Linked DNA regions of Homo sapiens: all the other regions are linked to region 1. Evidence: promoter capture Hi-C in human tissues and cell types (Jung and others, 2019). All regions are on one chromosome and are shown on one strand. Each heading gives the region's core, a stretch centred on a gene start or on the middle of the fragment in contact. The rest is flanking DNA. Distances are from core to core; before and after follow the strand shown.

The links. Contacts are between HindIII fragments. The study calls those that stand out against the background at their distance.
Region 2: the fragment with the promoter of NEFH here is called in contact with the fragment with the promoter of HORMAD2 in region 1 in 4 of the 25 tissues and cell types used here (adrenal gland, dorsolateral prefrontal cortex, lymphoblastoid cells and 1 more).
Region 3: a contact is called between a fragment that was not itself captured here and the fragment with the promoter of HORMAD2 in region 1, in 1 of the 25 tissues and cell types used here (lymphoblastoid cells).

The regions. Positions count from the first base shown.
Region 1 is chr22:30,078,798-30,082,552 of GRCh38, reverse strand. It overlaps HORMAD2 (HORMA domain containing 2), which reads right to left and starts at 2,089. Exons shown (of 11, transcript NM_152510.4): 1 at 2,062-2,089. HORMAD2-AS1 (HORMAD2 and MTMR3 antisense RNA 1) reads left to right here and starts at 2,296. Exons shown (of 5, transcript NR_110541.2): 1 at 2,296-2,425. RefSeq lists enhancers at 2,019-2,098, 1,936-2,633 and a silencer at 2,439-2,488. The HindIII fragment of the contact is 22,926 bases long and covers 1-3,755 here.
Region 2 is chr22:29,478,308-29,482,062 of GRCh38, reverse strand. It overlaps NEFH (neurofilament heavy chain), which reads right to left and starts at 1,845. Exons shown (of 4, transcript NM_021076.4): 1 at 918-1,845. The coding sequence starts at 1,800. RefSeq lists enhancers at 1-823, 3,384-3,755. The HindIII fragment of the contact is 10,845 bases long and covers 1-3,755 here.
Region 3 is chr22:29,549,218-29,552,972 of GRCh38, reverse strand. The region is part of intron 1 of THOC5 (THO complex subunit 5); the gene reads left to right. Among named protein-coding and RNA genes, the nearest start is that of THOC5, 2.7 kb to the left of the region's middle. RefSeq lists an enhancer at 394-1,093. The HindIII fragment of the contact is 5,636 bases long and covers 1-3,755 here.

The sequences.
Region 1 (3,755 bases), core at 840-3,339:
TCTCAAAGTTTTGGGATTACACATATGAGACACCACACCACGCCTTCAATTGCCCTATTTTATATGGTGGCACAATTACTTCCTATTTTACCCCTACTATGTGTGAGTCCAAGATTCACATAAAGATTAGCCAGCTGCTGTTTAGTTTACTAAGGCCTAAACCACTTTTTTAACCATTCCAAGTGAAGCAAAAGCCAAAGTTTTATTACATTTTCCCAAATATAATCATAGTTGATTTATGAAGGCTCTCTACCCATCTTTCTCAATCTTCAAAAACCGTTTTTTACAAGAAAATCCCTTTTCTATCAGGTGAACACTATCCAATAGCTGGATTCTGAAATGTAACTATATTACCTTCCTTACACATGCATGTTGTTAAGAATGGCTTTACTCAAAAGAAGTGTACGTTAACATAAATGGGTTCAATAGATTCCTAAAGCTGGAAGGGAGCACAGACATCTTCCAACCCCTTTGATTTAAAGAAGATCCAATTCTGTGGAGGAAGAATCTTTTTTTCAGCAAATGATGCTGAAACAAAAGGACATCTGGAGGGTGGGGGGAAGAACAGAGAATTAAAAGAAACTTAACCTAAATCTCACACTGTATACAAATATTAATGCAAAATGGATCATGGATTTAAACCTAAACATAAAACTATAAAGAAAAGGGGCCAGGTGCAGTGGCTCACACCTGTAATCCCAGCACTCTGGGAGGCCGAGGTGGGAGGATCACGAGGTCAAGAGATCGAGACTATCCTGGCCAACATGGTGAAACCCTGTCTCTACTAAAAATAAAAAAAAATAAAAAAATTTAGCTGGGCGTGGTGGTGCACACCTGTAGTCCCAGCTACATGGGAGGCTGAGGCAGGGGAATCGCTTGAACCCGAGAGGTGGAGGTTGCAGTGAGCTGAGATTGCGTCACTGCACTCCAGCCTGGCACAGAGCTCGACTCCATCTCACAAAAAAAAAAGAAAAAAGAAAAGGAAAGTGAGGCTAAGCAAGGGAACTTGGTTTGCCAAAGTTCGCCCAATTACTTAGACCTTCCAACAGAGCTTGCTTCAATAAATTATTCACCATTTTAACAAATTCCATTTGGCCCTGGTAATTCCCCTACCTGTGCTCATTCAGAGAAAATGGCTTCCACTATATTAATTGAGTATTTGTTCATGCTCTTTTGACTTTTTAATATCTTTTTCATGCTATTTCAATTATTCATTCATTCAACATCTACGAGGCAACTACAATGTGCCAGGCAACAACATGCAGGATTACGAGATGTAAAATACTGTTCCTACCTCAACAGATTGATGGTCCAATGGAGGAGAAATTAGATTATGATCCTGCTGAGATTAAAAACCCCTTTAGGGGCCAGAACCACCCCTCATTTCTACCAGCTGAGTACACGATGTACTGCACAGCCTGTCCAGTGCCCTGCGTACTCGGACACATTTTGGCGATTGGCTAATCCTGAGGTTCAAGACTCTCTCCCTCTGTTTAGGGAACTAAAGTCCATAGGGATTAATTGGCAAATCCTCACTAAAGTGAAAGGGGAGCTGAGGTCAAGGGGGGCGGGGTGTCTTGTCCCCACCTCTCTCACCTCTTGGCCTGTACCAGGCATCGATCCTGGCAGAAAACCTCAATGGCTGGGGAGAATCTGACCCAGGTAAGATAAACTTCCCCAAAGCTCCACCACACACGGCCCCCTCCAATGTCGGGCACAGACATCGTCTGCCCTGCCAGCCTCATCATGGCTCATTATGGCTGCTGCTTGCTCAGCAAGTTTGATTTCATGTCCAGAAAAATCTGAATTTCAAAACTACCTGGGTGCTCTCTGTCCAGTTCTGGGGGAAATCGCCTCCCTTTTGCCTTCCTCCTCAGCCCCCTGCCCTCCCGATTCTCTTCACAGTACTTTAGGCCCTCACGAAATATGATACTTTCAAATCCAACTTAAAGCCTTAAGTAATAAGAAAAGAAAAAAAAATTGTTTTTTGACATAAAGACAGAACTAACAACGCCCGAGTGCCCTCTCTGGGCCGAGACCTCGCGTCTCAACAGCCCTCACCTCAGCTCGTCGACGCTTCCCTCCCACCGGGGGTCAACGGCCTTTTCCGGCCCAAACCCGCTCCTCGGCTCATGAATAGTCAACGAGGCCTTTCTGGGCGGGACCAGAGGTTTCCTCATGAATAATTCATGACCCGTCCACGGCTAGCCTGGGCGACCGGCCTCGCTAGACTTCATGAATATGCAAAGCAGGGGCGAACGGCGGCTAGCCGGCCCCTAGCCCGCCCGGCCCCTCAGCAGCCGCCTCTCAGCCACGGGCTGCACACTGACCCGACGCGACCTTCGGTCAGGGGCCGCCAGCCTGGGCCACCTATACAACGACAGCCTGCTCCGGGGCTTCCTGAGGAGGTGCCTGCCCCGCCGAGGTTAGGACCCGAGGGACCGTGGGGCTCGGGCGGGCCAGGACGCCAGGCCGGCGGGTCCCAGAGAGGTCTGAGGCGGGCGCGGGGCGGCGTAGGGGAGGGAAGCGAGAGCCTGGGGGGCCCAGGGACCCGAGTTAGAAGAAGGCCCGAGAAGTGCGGCGCGGTGGCTCCACCTGGGATCCCAGCACTCTGGGAGGCTGAGGCGGGCGCGTCACTTGAGGTCAGGAATTCGAGACCAGCCTGGCCAACATGTTGAAAACCCGTCTCTACAAAAAATACAAAAATTAGCTGGGCGTGGTGGCGCGCGCCTGTAGTCCCAGCTACTTGGGAAGCTGAGGCACGAGAATCGCTTGAGCCCAGGAGGCTGAGGTTGCAGTGAGCCGAGATTCCGCCATTGCACTCCAGCCTGGGCGACAGAGCGAGACTCCGTCTCAAAAAAATTTTAAAAAGTACAAAAATTAGCTGGGCCACCTGACGTGCGCCTGTAGTCCCAGCTGCTCGGGAGGCTGAGGTAGGAGGATCGCTTGAGCCGGGGAGTTTGAGGTTGCAGTGAGCCAAGATCGTACCATTGCACTCCAGCCTGGGCAACAGAGGGAGACCCTGTCTCAAAAATAAAAAAAAAGAAAAGAAAGAAAAAAGACATAAGGCCAGAAGGCCAGAGCTTTCCAATACTTGAGGGCATCTGCAACCTCTTCATCCCTACCCTGGACCTGACTTTGCATTCTTTTTAACATTAATTTGTAATTATGCAAATAAAACATAAATATATTCTCCTTTGTGCCCTACCCCTAATCTCAGTTTTTTCTGCCCTGGTAACTGTGGGAGCAGTTGGGGGTGTGGCTCCTTGGATCGTTTCTCACCTGTTTAGGTAGATATTTCGTATCCTGTGGTGCTTTCCAAAGGCTCCTGGAGTCCCATGAACCTCCCCAAGGGGATTTCCCAAGAGAGTAGATGAAAGAGTGAGCCACTTGAAACCTGTTCTTATTTTGTTTCTGCAGGAAAGAAAAAAAAAACTATTCAAGTTGGCGAGAACATGAGTTTAGAACATAATGACTAAAACTGAAATTTGGGCTGAAATATTCTTTTAGTGCAAGTTTTCTCAACCTTCTCCCCACCCCCACCATCATAACAACCAAAAATTTCTCTAGACTTTGCCAAATGTCCCATGGGGTGTGCAAAATTGCCCTCTGTTGAGAACTACTGCGTTCACCCTATACTTTCCGGAAGTAACTGCTTTTTAAGCTCCAACCACACAGATGGTTTGTCTGCACCAGCCCTTCTCAGCCTCCGCATTTACCAGCCTCTCTGGCTGGATCACTAGGCCCTCTGTGCT
Region 2 (3,755 bases), core at 596-3,095, 600 kb after region 1:
AAATCACTGAAGCCTCTGCCCTCTCTCTCAAAAACAACGCAAAGTTTTACAGACAGTTTCGTGAGACATCATGGAACTCCCCGGATTAAGCAGCCCAGTTGATCTACCCTCCTCTTTCAACTCAAAAAGAAATGAAAACCAGAGAGGGCAAGTGTTGGTCAAGGTCACCCTGCAGCTGCTGGGCACAGCCTCAGGGCAGCGCAATCTAGCTGACTCAGGGCTGCAAGGAGTTGGGGGAGGGGCAGACTTGGGAGGCTCCCAGCTTCCCTAAAGGAGAAAGGGGACATTAAAACATGAAAGGGCCCACCAGCCACCTCCGCCACAGGCAACAACTGACTGTAGTAATGGTTCCCTCTAGGAAGAAAGGATGCGAAAAGGTCCTGACCCACCCCCACGTGGAAGATTTAAGGTAGGAACGTTAAGCACTGAGCAGGTAGTGGGAAGGAGCCTGGTAGGGGTGAGAGGAATAGAGTTTCTTGCGGGGTGTAGGAGAGGGCATGGCAGCATTGGCGGGGAAGCCTTGCTACTTAGAAGGGCTAAGAGTCTCCAGCGCTTGCAGACCAGAATCCTGCACCACTTTTTTCCTGTAGAGGAAACTTGTTTTTTTCTTGACGGGGGAGGGATCTCAGAGTGGGGTCGCCTAAGCTTGGGGTAGAGAGCAGCAGGGGGCCCAGAGTTGAAGTACAGCCGTAAAGAACCTGGAAAGGGGGAACCGAAGGACAACCCAGAGTTGGGGCGTCCCACAAGAGACCCAGAGTAAAACTGCGATTTAACTAGGGGCATGCACTTTGCAGAGGGAAGGTGAGCAGCGCGCCACTCCACGCGCAGTCCGGCAGCGCCCCCTTGGGTCACGCAGCCCAAAAGTTCGCTGCGGGGTCAGCAGGGGCGCCCCTCCCCCCACCCGCGCGCCTGCGTACCTCGGAACCACTCCTCGGACTGCAGCGTGCTCTGCACCGCGTGGCCTTCAAGCTGCGCGCGAATCTCGCGCAGCGCCGACGTCACGTCGCACTTCAGGGCGTCGCGCGTCTCGGCCTGCATCTGCGCCTGCGCGGCGCCGGAGCCCTGGATCTGGCCGAGCAGCTCGCCCACCTCTTCCTGGTGGTGGCGCCGCAGGTAGCCGCACTCCTCCTGCAGCGCCTGCGCCTTCTTCTGCAGGTCCACGCGCGCCGCCTCGGCCTCCTGCGCGAAGCGCGCCAGCGCGCGGGCCGCCGCCTCGGCCTCCTCTCGCTGCCGGGCCTCGTCGTCTAGGCGCTGGCGCACGTGCGCGATGTCCTCGAGCAGGTGCTCCTGCTCCAGGCGTAGCTGACCGCGCGCCGCGCCCAGGCGCAGCACCGCGCCGCGCATCTCGCGGACCTCGCGCTCGTACAGCTCGCCCATAGCGGAGCGGCCCGCCTGCTGCTGCCGCAGCGCCGCAGCCTCGCCCTCCAGGCTGCGGTTGTGCGCCTCCAGCTGCCGCACCTTGTCGATGTACCCGGCGAAGCGGTCGTTCAGCGCCTGCAGCTGCTCCTTCTCACTGCGTGAGGTGGCCACCGCCACCATGCAGCCCTCCGGCCCGTTGCTCAGCGTGTCCAGCGAGTCGGTGCTTGAGGCGGCGCCTGCGCCACGGAAGCGGCTGGGCGAGGCGGACACGGAGCTCACGGACGTCCGTGTCCACGAGTGGAAGCCGCTGGAGGAGCCAGCGGCGGAGCGCGTCCCGCCTGCGCCACCCTTTCGGGCTAGCGCGTAGTGGAGGCTGCCGCCGCCATGCAGCGGCGCGAACGGGGCGCCCAGCAGCGCGTCCGCGCCGCCGAAGCTCATCATGGCCTGAGCAGGTGCGCGAGGCCGGGACGGGGCGGGAGGCACTGCGGCAGCACCAGGGCGCCGGCCCTTTTATAGCCGCCGCGGCCGGGTCCAACCCCTTGGCAGTGAGAGGGTGGGGAGGAGGGCCCCGCCCTCTCCGCCTCCTCCCCTGCGGCCCCCCGGCCGACCGGCTCCGCCGCAGTGAGAGGGGCGGGGCAGGGGACCGAGGAGGGAAGGGGAATCGACGCTGCGTCAGAGGAGACCCTCGAGGTCGGGGAAGCGGGCAGAGGACTCCCGGAGTGGGCCAGTGAGGACCCCCGGGTGCGCGTCGGAAGAGCCTGCGAGTGTGTTCGGAATAAGAAAGGGGACTTGAAACAGGGAGAGGACAAGGAGAAACCTGATGGGAATAGGGGCAGGATGCCCTCGGGATGGAGCAATGGAAGATTGCAGTCATTAGGATGAGGGGATCCCTGTATGAGACAGGACACGAGGCTTTCCAAATAGTTAAGAGAGGCTTTCAGGATAGGGGGTGCAGAGACTGTGCAGCCAGCCCCGGAACAGAGGAGGGAGCAAGGCAGTCCTGAATGGGAGCATGGACGCTCCATAGAACGGAGACAGGAGACCCCTGACCGGGGGAGGTACAGTGTTCTCCTAACATCTAGAGGACCCACTTGGAGAGCGCTCAGGAAACTCCGCGGCCAGCCCCGGAATAGATGAAGGGGGACCTGGAGTTGGGGAGAATAGCAAGGCTACCCTGAATGGGGGTATGGGAGACACTGCAGAGGATGGAGAGAGGGAACCCCGGATGGGTGGGGTTGGGGGGAGGCAAGGCGTTCTCTAAAAAGTCTGCAGTGGCCCCCGAGAGAGGAGATGGGAGACCCTGCTGCCAGCCCCAGTAAAGGGGACGGACCCTCAGCGAAGCGGGCAGAAGGTCCCCTGAACAGGCAGGAGAAAGCTGGGCTGAGTTTGAGGGGCAGAGAACCTACAGTGGGGGTACCGTAGGAGGGCTTGGGCATGAAGTTGAGAGAGCTGGCCCCTGTGTGGGGTGGGGGGAAATGATGGGTGTCACCCGAGCCAGCTTCTGCACACTGGGGTCAGCTAGGCAGTTTGCTGGTCGAATGACCTTGGACAAGCTGTGTCCTCCCACCCTTGTTTTTCCATCTGTACAACGAAGGGGTCTTGCCCCAGAGACAAGCTCCAACTCCTGACCCCCGACTGCCCCAGGAAGTTCCACTTTGAGGGGTCTCTGGCTGAACTGGGGATGGGGAACCCACATCTTGCCGTTCTGTCAACACTAGGAAGTCCTCTTTTCTCCCTCCCCCTCCCCATCTTCTCAGCCTCAACTTGTCCTCTCTTCCCCCACTCCTGTAACAGACAAGCAGGCGCCTGAGTCGGCATCCCTTCTCTCTTACAGGGAAGTGATGAGATGCTTTCTGAGTACCAAAGTCCCTCACCCCAATAGGATGTCAGGTAGAAGAAGGGGTCCCCAGGATTTAGGGGGCCCTGCAACGGCTGTGACATTTGGCTCTTTATTGGTTTTGGCTCATGTTTTATGCTGTGGGAGTGGGGGTGGTGCTGCGGCTGGCGCTTCAGCACCGGGGACAGGGCCTGCTCTTTGTTGGGCGTGGGGCGGGGAAAGAGATTAACCCTCTGCTTTTACTTTAGGGGAAGGAAGGGAGGGACACTGTGCTGAGGGGACCCGAGAGGGGAGGCAAGTGATCCAGCAGGGTCACATAGTGAGCCAGGGACCCCTCCCTGGACTTCCTGTCGGGGGTCCAGTTCCGTGTTTTCTGGGCTGTTCCCCTCCTGCTTAGGGACCCCTGCGAAAGGACCCCTGGGGATGCTGGGAGCCCTGAGACGCCCTTGAGAGTTTGTAGACTCGTACTTCCACTCTGAACCTCCCCCAGGCAGTTATCTCAACACCCACTACACCCCTACTTTACGCGGGTTTTCCTGCTCCAGGATCCCCAGGACAG
Region 3 (3,755 bases), core at 579-3,078, 530 kb after region 1:
CACAGCACATGTTTCAGAGAGCACGGGGTTGGGGGTAAGGCTATAGACCAACAGCATCCCAAGGCAGAAGAATTTCTCTCAGTACAGAACAAAATGGAGTCTCCCTTGTCCACCTCTCTCCACACAGACACAGCAACAATCCGATTTCTCTATCTTTTCCCCACATTTCCCCCCTCTCTACTAGACAAAACCGCCATCGTCATCATGGCCCGTTCTCAATGAGCTGTTGGGTACACCTCCCAGACGGGGTGGCGGCCAGGCAGAGGGGCTCCTCACCTCCCAGAAGGGGCGGCCGGGCAGAGGCGCCCCCCACCTCCCGGACGGGGTGGCGGCCAGGCGGAGGCGCCCCCCTACCCCCGACCCGACGGGGCGGCTGGCCGGGCTGGGGCTGGCCCCCACCTCCCCCCCGGACGGGGCGGCTGGCCGGGCGGGGGCTGCCCCCCACCTCCCGGACGGGGCGGCTGCTGGGTGGAGGGGCTCCTCACCTCTCAGACGGGGCAGCCGGGCAGAGACGCTCCTCACCTCCCAGACGGGGTCGCAGCCGGGCAGAGGTGCTCCTCACATCCCAGACGGGGCGGCGGGGCAGAGGTGCTCCCCACATCTGAGATGATGGGCGGCCGGGCAGAGACACTCCTCACTTCCTAGACGGGATGGGGTCCGGGAAGAGGTGCTCCTCACTTCCCAGACTGGGCAGCCGGGCAGAGGGGCTCCTCACATCCCAGATGATGGGCAGCCGGGCAGAGACGCTCCTCACTTCCCAGACGGGGTGGCGGCCGGGCAGAGGCTGCAATCTTGGCACTTTGGGAGGCCAAGGCAGGCGGCTGGGAGGTGGAGGTTGTAGCGAGCCGAGATCACGCCACTGCACTCCAGCCTGGGCACCATTGAGCACTGAGTGAACGAGACTCCGTCTGCAATCCTGGCACCTCGGGAGGCCGAGGCTGGCCGATCACTCGCGGTCAGGAGCTGGAGACCAGCCTGGCCAACACAGCGAAACCCCGTCTCCACCAAAAAATACGAAAACCAGTCAGGCGTGGCGGCGCGCGCCTGCAATTGCAGGCACTCGGCAGGCTGAGGCAGGAGAATCAGGCAGAGAGGTTCCAGTGAGCCGAGATGGCCGCAGTACAGTCCAGCTTCGGCTCGGCATCAGAGGGAGACCGTGGAGAGAGGGGGAGGGGGGAGGGGGAGGGGTTTACTAAAAATTTTTAATCCAGTCCAAATTTTTTTTTTGCAACGGGATCTCTGTTGTCAAGACTGAGTGCAGTGGCGCGATCATAGCTCACTGCAGCCTGGAACTTCTGGGCTCAAGCCATCCTCCCACCCTAGCCTCCAGAGTAGCTTGGGACCACAGGTGTGCACCGCCATACTAGGCTAATTTTAAAATGTTTTCTAAAGATGGGGTCTCGCTCTGTTGCCCACTCTGGTCTTGAACGCCTGGGCTCAAGCGATTCTCTCACCTCTGCTTGCCTTGGTTTCCCAAAGTGTTGGGATTACAGGTGTGAGCCATGGTGTTGGGCCCAGTCACTTTTTTTGTTGTTGTTGAGACTGAATCTCGCTCTGTTGCCCAGGCTGGAGTGAAGTGGCTGCGATCTCGGCTCATTGCAACCTCTGCTCCCTGGGTTCAAGTGATTCTCCTACCTCAGCCTCCTGAGTAGCTGAGATTACAGGCGCCCGCCTCCACTCCCGGCTAATTTTTGTATTTGTGGTACTGACGGGGTTTCACCATGTTGGCCAGGCTGGTCTCAAACTCCTGACCTCAGGTGATCCACCCGCCTCAGCCTCCCAAAGTGCTGGGATTACAGGCCTGAGCCACTGCGCCCAGCCAAGTCACTTTTTAAACTCAAATTTACTTTGAGAGAAAACTTGAAATCTCTCCACCAGAAATGGAAAGCTGCTTTCACTTGTTTTATGTAGAAGGTAAAAATTAATATAGTTAATATAATGCAACTAGATCATTGTTAACAAACTCTGGCTAGATTTTGTTGTTTAAGGCTGTGGGATAGAGTTCTTTTGTTACAAAGGAACATTGGCATTCATAGATGTTAAAGACAAACTAGGGAACTGAGATGTTCTCCTTGAAGCAATCAGAAGTTTCAAAATAAGAATTGAAAAGGGATTAACTTTCTCCTTAGGTGTTCAGCATTATTTAAGATCACCTATGCATCATCTGAAGCCACAGTCCCAGGTCATCTTCATCACCTTCCCCAGTGGAATGCCTCCTGTGTTAAAGCCCACAACAACCCCTGTGGTAGGGACTGTTATTCTCATTTGATTTGTGAGGAATCAGACCCAGAGAAAAGTGAAGTGACTCGTCCGGGGACTCATAGCCATGAAAGAGTAGAATGGAGATTCCAGTTCAGGGCTCTCTGACTTTTACCGTGACAAACTATTGGCTCCCTCAAGTCGGGGATGTGGAAGCTTCAGTGAGTGATGATTGTGCCACTGCACTCCAGCTTGGGTGACAGAGCAAGAGGGATTAGGGTAAAGGGGACAGTGCTGCCCACCTCAGGAGGCTGTGGTGAGGCAACAAGGGAGGATGCTTTGTGACTGTAGAGCCCCATGAAATGTAGGTTCTATACTTTAAATTCTAGGATCAACCTGGGAGTCAATGGCATCACTAGATGAGAGGCTGGCAGGACTAGGAGGCATAAAAGTGTAGTTAAGAGCACCAGTATGGCATTGATTGGATAGATCCGGATTTTGGCCTACTAGTCATGTGACTCGCAATTACTTGCAAGTAATTCCCCTTGCGAGCCTCAGTTTTGTCATCTGTGAAATGGTGGTAGTTCTTAGCTGAAAAGTTTGTTATAAGGAGCAAATGAGAACATACCCATAAAGTAGTTAGATCAAGGCCCAGCACACAGTGATCACAGTAGTATTGGGAGTGTCTTTAAATGCCAGACCGAGGAGTTTGGATACTAATTTATGGAGCACTCTGCCAGGCTCAGGGGGAAGAGGGTAGAGCTCACAATCTAGGTGGGAAGACAGGTAAATGATTCATAGAGATAAATTCCCTAATAGTGTACCCAAAGTAGCCAAAAGAGGGCTTTGGGGAGACCTGACAGGCTTCCTAGAGCAGATGAGCATTGCTTAGTCTTGAAGGATATAGGGAGGAAAAGGAAGATCTTTGCAAGCAGGGGAAAAGACATGGAGTGTTTGGGGAACTGGGATTGCAGGGTGCAGTTGCAGCTAGGAGCAGAGGTTGGGGACAGTGGGAAGGTCGGTAGGAATAGGAATGCAAGAAATGAAGTTGGGAAGGTAGGTTGGGGACAAACCATCAAGGGTCTTTATGACAAGTCAGGGAATATGGATATTCAGTGCATTATGAAGAGCCAGCAAAGGTTTTGAAACAGGAGAGGCATTAATTAGGTCGGTCTTTTTTAAGAAAGAGAATTTAGACAGTATTGTTGGGCAAGACTGTTAGAGTAGTCCTGGAGAGGAATGTGGAGGGCCTGGCCTAGGGTGTTGAGATGGAGACACACATGGTGCCTGGATAGCTGGGTGAACACTTGAATGCAGGTCTCCTCTATGGAGAGTGTGGAGCAGGATGTGGGTGGAGGCAGGGCAGGGAGAGGTTGAAGTAGATGATTCCGAGGTCAGTGGGAGTGGGTGGTGATGCCTTTTTAAAAGAGAAGGTGGAGTTTGTTTTGGACAGGCTGAGAGATGCTTCCCTGTTGTATTACAGAGGGTTAAATTGAGGCTTTGAGGGGTTAAATGACTTTCCTTGAGTTACCAAGTCTGTAAGTGGCCAGAACTGC